3 separate regions of the Homo sapiens genome follow, and regions 1 and 2 are each linked to region 3. Evidence: promoter capture Hi-C in human tissues and cell types (Jung and others, 2019). All regions are on one chromosome and are shown on one strand. The core of a region is centred on a gene start or on the middle of the fragment in contact, and the rest is flanking DNA. Distances in the headings are between cores, read along the strand shown. Region 1 overlaps PCNX1 (pecanex 1). Region 2 overlaps SLC10A1 (solute carrier family 10 member 1). Region 3 holds the start of COX16 (cytochrome c oxidase assembly factor COX16).

Region 1 (4,506 bases), core at 993-3,492, 590 kb before region 3:
TTAAGTAGCTTCTCCAATGTCTTACAATTAAGAAGCCTTGACTGACTGAGTGTGAAGTCTACATTCTGTCCACTTATCCACAATGTACGAATATGCATTTCTTAACAGAAATAGAATAGGCGTAGGAAATGTACAGAAACCATTTAAAAAATGTGAAAGGTTATAAGACATAAAAGATAAGTGAATAAAGAGATGATAAATAAAAACATAAGAAAATAAATGGAAATCTCTCATCTATATCCCTATTTTAAAAGTTGAGTTTCTACAATTTAATAGAATTGTCATCAAAATTCTAACGAAATTTTCTGGAGGATAAGCACACATGAAGATATCTCACAAAAGTAAGTATATGCATGAGAATAATCAAAATAATATCAAAAAAGGTCAGGTGTGGTGGCTCATACCTGTAATCCTAGCACTTCAGGAGACCGAGGCAGGCAGATTACCTGAGGTCGGGAGTCCAGCACCAGCCTGGCCAACATGATGAAACCCCGTCTCTACTAAAAATACAAAAATTAGCTGGGCGTGGTGGTGCATGCCTGTAATCCCAGCTACTTGGGAGGCTGAGGCAGGAGAACCGTTTGAACCTGGGAGGTGGAGGTTGCAGTGAGCCGAGATCGCACCACTGCACTCGTCTGGGCAACAGAGCAAGACTCCATCTCAAAACAAACAACCAACCAACCCCCGCCCCCCAAAAAAATAATAATATCAAAAAAGTAAAATACTGGAGTCACTCACAATGCTAAGTATTAAACATATTATAAAGCCACTATGATAAAAACAGTATGGTATAAATGAAAAAAGGCAGAAAGATGAAGCAGAAAACTAAGTTCAGAAACTAGCATAAGTATATACAGTATACTACATGAAAAAGAAAGCATCTAAATTTACAGGGAAAAAATTTGTTACTTAATGAATGGTGTTGTGATAAACAAACCTAAACAAATTAAGTTAAAATGTTTTCAAACTGACAACAATTTAAGAGTAAAAAGTAAAATGATAAAAATACTGAAAGTAGATACAAAGATCTTAATTTATTGTATATTTATATAATTTGAGGGAAGGAAAATCTTAGAAAACGTTATCAAAAGCAGAAATAACAAACACACAAAATTGGACCACAGAAAAATAAATTACAGGATATAAAGACACTGACAAATAAAATGCTATAAACTGAGGAAGAGTATTTGACACAGAAGAGCTAATATATTTTATTTAAAAAAAGTTCCAAAATCAATAGCAAAAAAAAATCCACCAATAGAAAAATATACAATTCACAGAATAACAAATATAAATGGCAATAAGAAAAATACCTCCATTTCACTAGTAATTCAAAAACGGGAATATTAAACAATAATTTATTTACATATTAAACAATATTAAACAATGAGATATCACAGTTTTTCAAAATACTAAATACTCAAGAGTTGTCAAAAGTGCAAAAAAAAGAGGCAGCTGAATTTCTGGTCATAGTCATTAAATGGTAAAATCTTGGGAATTTGGCAATACATATTGGAAAACTTATAAATGTGCATAGCATTTCTAGTAATTCCACCTCTGAAAAACTATGATAGAACATTTAATCATTGAAAATTTAAACATCACAGTTATCTAATATTTAAATTTCAAAATGATTGATATAATTTAAAATAGGATAAAATACATTGGCATAATGAGATACTGTGCATCATTAAACATAATATCACAGAATAATCGTTTTCACTACTTCAAATATTTGCTGAGTACCTATCATTGCCAGACACTGATTTTGGAACTGGGAATATAATAGTTTATAAGAACAATAAGGTCATTACCTTCAAGAAGTTCATCAATGCAAATAAATGTTAAGATAATTTCAGATAGTGATTAAGGCAATAAACAAAAATTATGAGGCTAAAATACGTGTTTAATTAACAAACAGGGTACTCATGTTAAGAATAAGGAAAAAAATGTAATTGAAAAGGAATAAACAAAGGCTTTCAATGCCCTGGAAAATATACAGAAATATCACCTGTCTTAAGAGAGGAGTGCCCACTTTTTCTTACATTATTTATGTCTTGATGTCTGAAATATTTCATATTATGCTCAGTGGAAACAACTGCTTAGATTATTTGATCTTTCTCAACTTGGTTTCCACATCTGTAAATCAGGGATAATAACAGCATCTACCTGCTAGAATTGTTTTGAGGTATGTCAAGTGTTCACAAATTTTCCAAGAGTTATATTAGGGGTACCTATTAATTTCTGTAAGGTCACAAACTTTTGACTATGAATAAAGTAGACACTTCTGTCAAATAGGTAAAGTGGAAAGTGGGCAAGGCCAAGGTCATGCTACAGAATGTGACTGAGCAACAGGGGGATCACTTCAGCTGGGATGGGAAAGGAAAGCCTCCAGGAGGAGTTGACATCGAATCACAGTTGAATCCTAAGAAGTCAGTCTTGCAAAGATCTAGGAAAGAAACAGCTAAGTTTCTAAGGTAAGAATATACAATTCAAACAAATTTACAATAGGTTAAGTAAAGTATACTACTTATAAATGTCAAGTAAAATATCACAATTTGCTTAAGGTGTGTGTGTATATATATACACATGCGTATGTGTATATTATACATATATACACATATATACGTGTATATATGTACATATATATGTACACACACACACATATGTATATACACGTATGTGTCTATATATGTATATATGCACGTGCGTGTATGCACGTGCGTGTATACACGTGTGTATCTACACACATATGTGTGTACACACGTGTGTGTATACACGTGTGTGCATACACGTGTGTGTGTATACACGTGTGTATATACACATACATATATCTATATATACATGTGTATATACACACTATGAGTAAATGCTGAGATGTATAAGCATTTATAAGTATATATACACATATACATATGTGTATATGTACATATATACACATATACGTATATACATGTATGTATATATACACATGTATATATACACGTCTATACATACATATATCTATATATACATGTGTATATATACACACACATTTTATTTATACGAGTAAATAAAAATGCTGAGATTTATAAGCATTTATAAGTGTATATACACATATACGTATGTGTATATGTACATATATGTACATATATACACATATATACGTATATACACGTATGTGTGTATATATACACATATCTATATATACATATGTGTATATATACACACATACATTTTATTTATACGAGTAAATAAAAATAAATGCTGATTTATAAGCATTTATAAGTATATATACACTATACATATATGTGTATATGTACATATATGTACATATACACATATATATGTATATACACTTATGTGTATGTGTGTATATATACACGTGTATATATACACATCTATATAGACACGTGTATATATACACATCTATATATACACAACTATATATGTGTATATATACACATCTATATATACACATATCTATATATGCATATGTGTATATATACACACACATACATTTTATTTATATGAGTAAATAAAAATAAATGCTGAGATTTATAAGCCATGCTGAATAATTTCTTTAGGCTGCTGGTTTTGGTCTCTAGTGTAAGTAACTATCATACAGTAGTGTATTTATCAGGGGAACCAGCCCCCAATATTTCAACGTAGGTTCTTTTCTATTTTCCCTAAGTGTTGGCCGGTCTGAGAAATAAAGGGAAAGAGTACAAAAGAGAGAAATTTAAAACTGGCTGTCCAGGGGAGACATCACATGTCGGCAGGTTCCGTGATGCCCCCTGAGCCACAAAACCAGCAAGTTTTTATTATGGATTTCAAAAGGGGAGGGGTGTATGAATAGGGTATGGGTCACAGAGATCACATGCTTCAAGGGCAATAAAATATCACAAGGCAAATGGGCAGGGCAAGGTCACAATGCCAGGGCGAAATTAGAATTACTGATGAGGTTCACTGTCCCGCTATGCACAGATTGTCATTGATAAACATCTTAACAGGAAACAGGGTTCAAGAGCAGAGAACCAGTCTGCCTACAATTTCGCCAGGCTGGAATTTCCCAATCCTAACAAGCCTGGGGGCGCTGCTGGAGACCAGGGCATATTTCATCCCCTATCCACAACTGCGTAAGACAGACACTCCCAGAGTGGCCATTTTAGAGGCCTCCCCCTGGGAATGCATTCTTTTCCCAGGGCTGCTCCTTGCTAAGAAAAAGAATTCAGCGATATTTCTTTTATTTGCTTTTGCAAGAAGAGAAATATGACTCTGTTCCGCCCAGCCCGCAGGCAGTCAGACTTTATGGTTATCTCCTTGTTCCCTGAAAATCGCTGTTATCCTCTTCCTTTTCTAGGTGCCCAGATTTCATATTGCTCAAACACACATGCTCTACAAACAATTTATACAGACAACGCAATCATCACAGGATCCTGAGACGAGATACATCCTCAGCTTAAGAAGAAGACGGGATTAAGAGATTAAAGGACAGGCATAGGAAACTATAAGAGTACTGATTGA
Region 2 (4,455 bases), core at 1,101-3,600, 580 kb after region 3:
AAAGCTACAGTAGAGTTGTGAGAAAGAATCTACTCTGATGCTTATCTGAGAGGAACGCAAGAGATTTGCTGCCCTCTTACAAAAAGTGCACAGAAGTTTCTAGACCAACCAAATTCCCAGATTTGAGGTTTTAGTACCAGAAAGACCTGAAGTGACCTCAAAGGACAATACTCTATGGATCTTTAGCTCTCAAGACTTGAAAAGAACTTTCCTCACAGTGTATCTCAGAAGACCCCAGTGGAAACACTAAATCAAAGCAACGTATTTCTTTGGACCTAATGGCCCCAAGAAGCTATTCTCAGGGGGGAGGAATCTGTCAAGTTTTTATACTTTTCATTCCTGCACCTGATGGGAGAACAACTCTGTATAGAGAACTCTCCCATCTGTATAGAAAGGTGCAGGAATCAAAGCTATCTTCAAATTTGCATCACCGCCTACACCACGGACAAGAAGAGGTAGATCAATTGGGGGTTGGAGGGAAGAACTGGAAACTCTCTTGGTTAGACTTTCTCGAAGATCTTTCCTGCCTGCCTCCTCATTCCCTGAATGCAACACAGACCTTGCATACATAAACTCATCTCCTGTTGTTTTACTGTATAACGAAGTTAGAAGTGAAGTGATGATGAAGACACAATAGTCTAATTCATTAGGACTTTTACTACTAGTACTACCATTAGGGAGACTGAGGGGAAAGTGAGTTTAAAGAGTAAACCATGGGAGAGACGACAGAGATGGAAAATATATACTTAGCACACTCTAGGGCTGAGTTGGTATTTTTGTACTTTCCAGATTAAACAAGCTTCATTGTTCACTCCTCTTGTTCTCTCTCTACACCTGTAACCCTTTTTAACTTTACAGATAAAACAAAAATGATCTACACAGCTGCCACAACTGAAGAAACAATTCCAGGAGCTCTGGGAAATGGCACCTACAAAGGGGAGGACTGCTCCCCTTGCACAGCCTAGCCCTTCCCCTGGTGGCCTGGATTCTGGTCCCAAAGCAATTCTGAAAGCCAGTGTGGTAAACTAGAGAGAGCAGCAAAAACACCAGTCTTGCCTGAGTCTTTCTCCAGCATTTCCAGTACATCTATCAGAATCATCAAGTCTTGGCCGGGAACACAGACAGGGTGTCTACCCAAGAAGCCTCACCTATCCCCAACTTAGAATTTGCTACTTATTTTAAAGACTTGTTCAGTGACTGTAAACTCTATGAAACCAGAAACCGAATCTGCCTCTTGCTGGGATCTCTAAAAGTGTCTGATAAGCATCTTAAAGTCACTCAATTCCTGAACTAATCAATATATATGTTTAACCCATTACTCAAATACCCAAATCCCATTCCAAGTTTTGTGACCCAAAAGAGAAATAAATGCTCACAAGTGCTGTAGAATTAAACTTCAGAAGTTCTAACCTAAAAAGTTCAGATCCTATTCCTTCCCTTTTGACATTATTGGGATGATGCTCCCGAAAAGTCAAATTTGACATCAAGTATGCAAAAGTGAACACAGTAAGATGCAATCAGGCAAAACAAACTCAAAAAATAGCTAATGAAATGAAAAAACTGGGCGAATGCATCATGTTAGTAGAGGAGGAAAACTTTTGACAAGGAAAAACCAGGAAACAAACACATACATTAACACAATGTTACCTCACTAATAATCTCTTTTTTAAGTTCAGTAGGTATTTGGTTTTAACACAAGGCGCCCCCAAAACTGGGTACAGCAAACTACTGCCAAAATGAGTCGTTTCCCAATTCAAAGAAAAATGTTCAAATACCTAGAATTCACAAATTTCAAATTGTCTCTAATAAAATTTAAACATTTTGCATATCATATGTAAATAAGGATCAAGTAAATGATTAACAACTAATATTAACAATTACAAAAAGTCAATCATGCTTATTAGTTACTTGGGATTTTTATCATTTTGTATGGTCAGGTACAAATGAAACCAAGACAATATAGTTTTCGGGTATCAGTTTGGCAAATGTGCAGGACTAACAAGTACTCCCAACACCAAAACGAGAAACACAGATTTGGGTTACTAACATCCTCTTAAAAACGCAGATTTTTGACAAGGCTACCACCTATCATTTTTACTTATTATATCCATATATACCTACCTGTTCAAATTGTTTTCTCTATTATCTAACCAACATCATCTGCTAGGAGACTTGGTTACATACAAGTTATGTAAGAACACATTTGTTTAGCTTTTGAGGAAGACAGGGTTGGCCTCAAACCATTCTTAGAAAGGAATAAAGATGGCCGGATGCAGTAGTTCACACCTGTAATCCCAGCACTTTGGGAGGCCGAGTCGGGCAGATCATGAGGTCAAGTGATTGAGACCATCCTGGCCAAAATGGTGAAACCCCATCTCTACTAAAAATACAAAAATTAGCCAGGCATGGTGGCACACACCTGTAGTCCCAGCTACTCGGGAGGCTGAGGCAGGAGAATCACTTGAACCCCAGAAGCAGAGGTTGCAGTGAGCCGAGATAGCACCACCGCGCTCCATCCAACCTAGCAACAGAGCAAGACCCTGTCTAAAAAAAAAAAAAAAAAGCAAGGAATAAAGATGAAACTAATATAAACATAGAAAACAAAGGTTAAACCATGCCCTACAAAGGCAGGTCCTAAACCTTTCCTTAGGATTACATCCACACTCCTCATGGTATCTGAAGCCTGGTTTTGAGAGTCCCTTTTTGAGACATAATTGTTATCTCCCTGCCATTTTTTTCAAAAGAAGGAATTTATCGTACTCCCTAACACCTCTAAGATTAAAAGTAGCTTAATTCTTGGCTGGGCACAGTGGCTCACACCTGTAATCCCAACACTTTGGGAGGCCAAGGCAGGCAGATAGATTATTTGGAGTCAGGAGTTCAAGACCAGCTTGGCCAACATGGTCAAACCTCATCTCTAATAAAAATACAAAAATCAGCCAGACATGGTGGTGGGATATTCCAGCTCCTGGGAGGCTAAGACATTAGGATCACTTGAGCCTGGGAAGTGGAGGTTCCAGTGAGTCAAGACACCACCACTGCACTCCAGCCTGGGTGACCAAGCAAGACTCTATCCCAAGAAAAAAAAAGAAGACTGGCAGAGTGGCTCACGCCTGTAAACCAAGCACTTTGAGAGGTTGAGGTGGGTGTATCACTTGAGGTCAGGAGTTCGAGACCAGACTGGCTAACAGGTTAAAACCCCGTCTGTACTAAAAATACAAAAAAAAAAAAAAAATAGCTGGGCATGGGGATGGGCACCTGTAATCCCAGCTACCTGGGAGGCTGAGGCAAGAGAATCGCTTGAACCCAGGAGGCAGAGGCTGCAGTGAGCCAAGATCGCCCAAACTGGGCAACAGCAAGACTCCATCTCAAAAAAAAAAAAAAGTTTGTCTGATTGTCTAGGGGTAGAGGGGAAGAACATCAACATACTACCATACTGCACTGAGGAGCATGTTTTAAAAGCCCAAGGGTGAGAAGCTGCTTTTGATAGCAACTTCAGGCTAAGTACTGCCTTCAGAGACGCTAAGAAAATCTAGATTTAACCATTTATTAAAATAAACCTAGTTCTCTCAACTAATTCAACAGGTATACCAACTCCTAAACTCAGCCTCTTACTGCAATTAGCAGTTTTAAGCTTCCGTGGCCTGTTCTAGTCTTAGAAACAGCTGGGGAGTGGCCTTTTAAAAATTAAGGATACCAAAAACCTTTCAATTCTCCCAAATGGAGATTCCCACTTCCCAATCCGCATGCTTTCGGGAAGCTAAAAGCTACATTTTTCTAGTGCTTCTAATTCTGCCTTCTTCCAAATCCCTGAAAAGCTAGGGGCAAAAATCTTTACGTGAACAGTGACAGTGTGGTGTGGGGGTCTTAGGAATCAGACTTCCTAGATTTTAACACCAATCCATCCCTGTTCTTTGAAAAATTCCTGAATTCCCACCAGTAAAATGATGGTATTAGATTCAGTCAACACAGAGGTAATGGCACTTAAAACAGTGCCTGGCTATTACTATCAGATGCTATATAGATGTTATTCACTGGTTCCCAGTATTTATGTAGTCTAGCCCCCACAGAACTAAGAATATATCTAAGTGTCTTGAGACTCCTGTATTAACAAAGCTCATTTTCTACACATCTAAGACAGGGCTTGAAAGATCACATATAGAAGTCTAAGGTTAATGTGGATATAGGACCTTAGGCATTTTGCACTATTGTTTTCCCTTAAACATGTACTATCCCATACATATCTCAAGACAAAAAGTAGCATGTCAAAGCCCCTTAAGCATTCACGTTATCTGACCACCAAAACTGCATCACAACTGGATAAAGTGGTTCACACCTATAATCCCAGCACTTTGGGAGGCCAAGTTAGGAGAATCACTTGAGGCCAGTTCAAGACCAGTATGGGCAACATAGCAAGACCCTGTCTCTAGAAAAATAAAAAATTAGCCACACACA
Region 3 (3,943 bases), core at 1,247-3,746:
AGTCCTCAGGGACTGGCATAGATGGTGGAGATGCCCCATTTCCTGAATATACATTTTTTGTAACTTCTTACAGTTAAGATAGCTGAGTCAGCATTTTAACTGTTTATTAACAATGGAAACACATGGAATTTGAGTCATATTTCTGGGAAGGCAACAGATTCCATACTGGTAAGAAATTTTGTGTTCCCTTTTTGTGAGAATCGTAAACTGATGACAAATATCACTCATTCCGATTTAACAGATGGAAAAACTGAAGTATACAGTAGTGATGCTTAAGAAGGGCGCTATGCATAGCTGGTAAAATTTACCACCTATGTAGTATGATTTGATAGGTGCTTACATTCCTCAGTGTCACAGATTTTGTCCCCTGACAATCTGCCGGCATACCTGTAATTCCTACTGTTCACAGTTACTCCTTCAGGGCCATTTCAAGGTTCTCAATAAATGCTTATTTGAGTGATTGAACAAACAAGATACTAAAGACATAGAGTGCCTTAAATTGGATAGATGCCTTATCTGAAAAGTGTAAGATTATCGACTCTAGCATTATTTTGAATATATGTATACGATTTAACCCATTATTAGCTACTACTTAGGTGCCGGGTTTTGATGGAGTAGTATCCAGTAGGCTGATGTTTTATGTAGTGAAGATGTAGGAAAACGCTAGAGTTTTAGAGCAGCGCCTTTGGCTTCTAGGATCTTAGGGAAAGTAGGAGATGTGATACGCTTAACTAACCTGGATGCCACGTGAGATTTATTTATTTATTTTTGAAACAGGGTCTAGCTGTGTCACCCAGGCTGCAGTGCAGTGGCATGATCACGGCTCACTGTAGCCTGGACCTCCTGGGCTCAAGTGATCTTCCCACCTCAGCTTCCCAAGTAGCTGAGACCCCACCATGCCTGGCTAATTTATTATTATTATTATTATTTGTAAAGATGGGGTCTTGCTTTGTTGCTCAGGCTGGTCTCGAACTCCTGGGCTCAAATGATCCTCCTGCCTCAGCCTCCCAAACTGCAGGTATTACAGGCATGAGCCACCATGCCTGGTCTGCATGAATTTTGAAATATCAAAAGGAAGTAAATAAGATGGGAGAGATGCACCGTTCCTGGGTTTCTGGAGGTATTGAAATACAGGTTGATGTGTAGAGTGGTGGAGCAAACTCCTATTCCATCTCCTTGCTTCAAAAACCCATTTAACATATTTTCCTTGGATAGAGAATGTGTCAAATATTAAACTGTTAAGAACAGATACTACACTTGATCTTAGCCAAAAGGATAAGTTTCACTGGAGTAGCCTGCAGTAGATCTGGAGCTTCTCTTCTGGAGACCACTTAAGAGGCTACTTTAATAGGTGAAAAGATGATAAGGAATTAAAAAAAGGAACATTTCAGTGGTAACAGAGAGGCAGGGACAGATGGAAATATTTCAGGAATAGCATGGAAGATAATATTCCGCATCACCTGCACTCTGATTCACTCTGGTAAATGGGACACGTGGGGGATCGGCTTCCTAAGCTATCCCAGTACTTCACACATGTTTGTTTCTGTGCCCATGAAATCGCCAGTGTCTTTAAGGTAAGGATCATATATTTTTATCTGTGTTCCTAGAACCCTTTCAAAGACACGCTGAAAGGTGGCCTGTATGGTTGCTGAATCATTGGTAAATAGACATTCATAAATGACTAAAGATTACAGGTTATCTCACAGTAAAATCATTAGCATTAAAAGTTCAGTAATGACTGATGAGACACTACACTGATTACATTTCAACCTAATCTTTCAAAAGCGATTTATTTTTAAAAGTCTCCATTAAACTGGCAAATTCCTCATCCCACAAATAGCCATAAAGACTGGAGTACCAGCTTCAAAATACTTTTTTTTCTTTTTTCTTTTTGAGACGAAGTCTCGCTCTTGTTCCCCAGGCTGGAGTGCGATGGCGCGATCTCTGCTCATTGCAACCTCCGCCTCCCGGGTTCAAGCGATTCTCCTGCCTCGGCCCCCCAGTAGCTGGGATTACAGGCGCCTGCCACCACGCCCGGCTAATTTTTGTATTTTTTTTTTTTAATAGAGACGGGGTTTTACCATGTTGACCAGGCTGATCTAGAACTCCTGACCTCAGGTGATCTACCGGCCTCGGCCTCCCAAAGTGCTGGGATTACAGGCCACCCACCCAGGCCACCGCGCCCGGCCTCAAAATACTTTTTTCCTTAGCTGATTTTATCGAGTGGCTATGTGCCTAAGGGAGTGTTCTAAGCAGACGTTAGTTAGGACCCAGAACGTGGGAAGTACTGGTTTCCAGATCAATTTGGTGGTGATCGTAAACCGATTCAAATCTCTAAATCCCAATTGCACGCCGACGTTACGGAACCAAAAACGCTGACGCCCACATTTCTGGGCGGACGCACAAGTATGTTACGATGGCTCGATTGCTTTTGCCTAGCGGAAACCATTCACTAAGGACCGAGCACCAAATAACCAAGGAAAAGGAAGTGAGTTAAGGACGTACTCGTCTTGGTGAGAGCGTGAGCTGCTGAGATTTGGGAGTCTGCGCTAGGCCCGCTTGGAGTTCTGAGCCGATGGAAGAGTTCACTCATGTTTGCACCCGCGGTGATGCGTGCTTTTCGCAAGAACAAGACTCTCGGCTATGGAGTCCCCATGTTGGTGAGTGGAGTGAGGAGGATCTTCCGCAAGGGGTGGGACCCTCCTCCTTGGCAGGATCAAGACCTGGGAGGGAATCTGTAAAATGTGAAGTTAAGGGCTGGCACTCGGGCTAGGAAGGAGCTAGCGACGGGGTGAGAGCTTTCCTAAAAGCTCTTCCACCAGTCTTTTCCACACCCCCACTTCCCCGCCGCTGTCCCCCACTCCCGGTTGGATTTCAGGTGTACTAGGATCTGTCTGCTTGTGAGCGTGGCGTCTTTCCCATCGTCGAACGCGGTCATTGTTACTACCCTTGATTCACAGTTAAGTAAATTGAAGCTCAGAGAATTCAGTCAGAACCACACTTTAAGCCAAGTTTGGATGATTACTAAGCTTGCTTCCTCGCCCCCAACTTAGCTATGTTTTGACGATACTGTGGATCATTGGGACTAGATGTATTCCATTTAACTGCACGAATTCCTGGTATCTTTCTGTTTCATCTTTCTAGTTTGTGAATTAGCTTAATACTTAGAGTTGTGATGAACTAATAACACCTTGTGAATAAAGTGTTGAGTACGGTGCCTGCCACATTGTAGCCAGAATGATTGCTGTGTTATAATTTCTAAAGCACGTTGAAAACAGCTTCCGTGTTTATATGGTTTCATCCATATCCACACTGAGTTCCCTAAGGATGTCATGAAATGCAGGCTGAGGCTGGCTTAAGACAACCAGAGTTGAAATCCAGATGACTCTTATTTGCTTTTTGATTACGGGCCAGTTATTTTGCTTCAGCAAGCCTTGATGTGTTAGTAAATGAAATAATTAAAGCATATGAACAAAAGCTGCTTTTAAATACAGACTATATTTTTATTTTGTATGAATGTTGGCGCAGATGAAATTACCAGCTTTTCCATTTAAGCAGACTAAAGGAAAGAAGTGATCTTAGAAAGGTAATGGATATTTTACACAGTTTTGAAAAATCCACATTCATCAAATGTGGATTTTAGGAATCTCCAAAAGATTCACCCATTTGAAGTATCTGGGCCAAGCACGATGGCTCACACCTGTAATCCCAGTGTTAGGGGAAGCCAAGACAGGAGGATCGCTTTAGGTCAGGAGTTCCAAACCAGCAAGACCTCTGTCTCTCCAAAAAAAAAAAAAAAAAAAAAAATTGTTGTTTTTAGCAAATTCGATATTAGTATACTAATATATTCGTATATTAGTATATTCTTAGTTATGGAGCCATCACCACAATTTTAGAACATTTTCATTGCCCCCAAAAAAGCATCATAACTAATAGTAGTCAC

Evidence for each region. The method cuts DNA at HindIII sites, captures the fragments that hold promoters and counts their contacts. A contact is called where the count stands out against the background at its distance.
Region 1: a fragment that was not itself captured here is called in contact with the fragment with the promoter of COX16 in region 3 in 1 of the 25 tissues and cell types used here (lymphoblastoid cells).
Region 2: a contact is called between a fragment that was not itself captured here and the fragment with the promoter of COX16 in region 3, in 1 of the 25 tissues and cell types used here (mesendoderm cells).

What each region holds. Positions count from the first base shown.
Region 1 is chr14:70,947,551-70,952,056 of GRCh38, reverse strand. All of the region lies in intron 2 of PCNX1 (pecanex 1), which reads right to left. It overlaps LOC105370557 (a long non-coding RNA gene), which reads left to right. Exons shown (of 3, transcript XR_944008.3): 2 at 2,299-2,477. Among named protein-coding and RNA genes, the nearest start is that of PCNX1, 42 kb to the right of the region's middle. The HindIII fragment of the contact is 4,812 bases long and covers 1-4,506 here.
Region 2 is chr14:69,772,792-69,777,246 of GRCh38, reverse strand. It overlaps SLC10A1 (solute carrier family 10 member 1), which reads left to right. Exons shown (of 5, transcript NM_003049.4): 5 at 859-1,831. The coding sequence ends at 965. Among named protein-coding and RNA genes, the nearest start is that of SRSF5, 7.9 kb to the right of the region's middle. The HindIII fragment of the contact is 3,910 bases long and covers 396-4,305 here.
Region 3 is chr14:70,358,236-70,362,178 of GRCh38, reverse strand. COX16 (cytochrome c oxidase assembly factor COX16) reads left to right here and starts at 2,496. Exons shown (of 4, transcript NM_016468.7): 1 at 2,496-2,660. The coding sequence starts at 2,592. The region is part of intron 3 of SYNJ2BP-COX16 (SYNJ2BP-COX16 readthrough); the gene reads left to right. It also overlaps the pseudogene RNU2-51P. RefSeq lists enhancers at 1,917-2,006, 2,467-2,776. The HindIII fragment of the contact is 8,811 bases long and covers 1-3,943 here.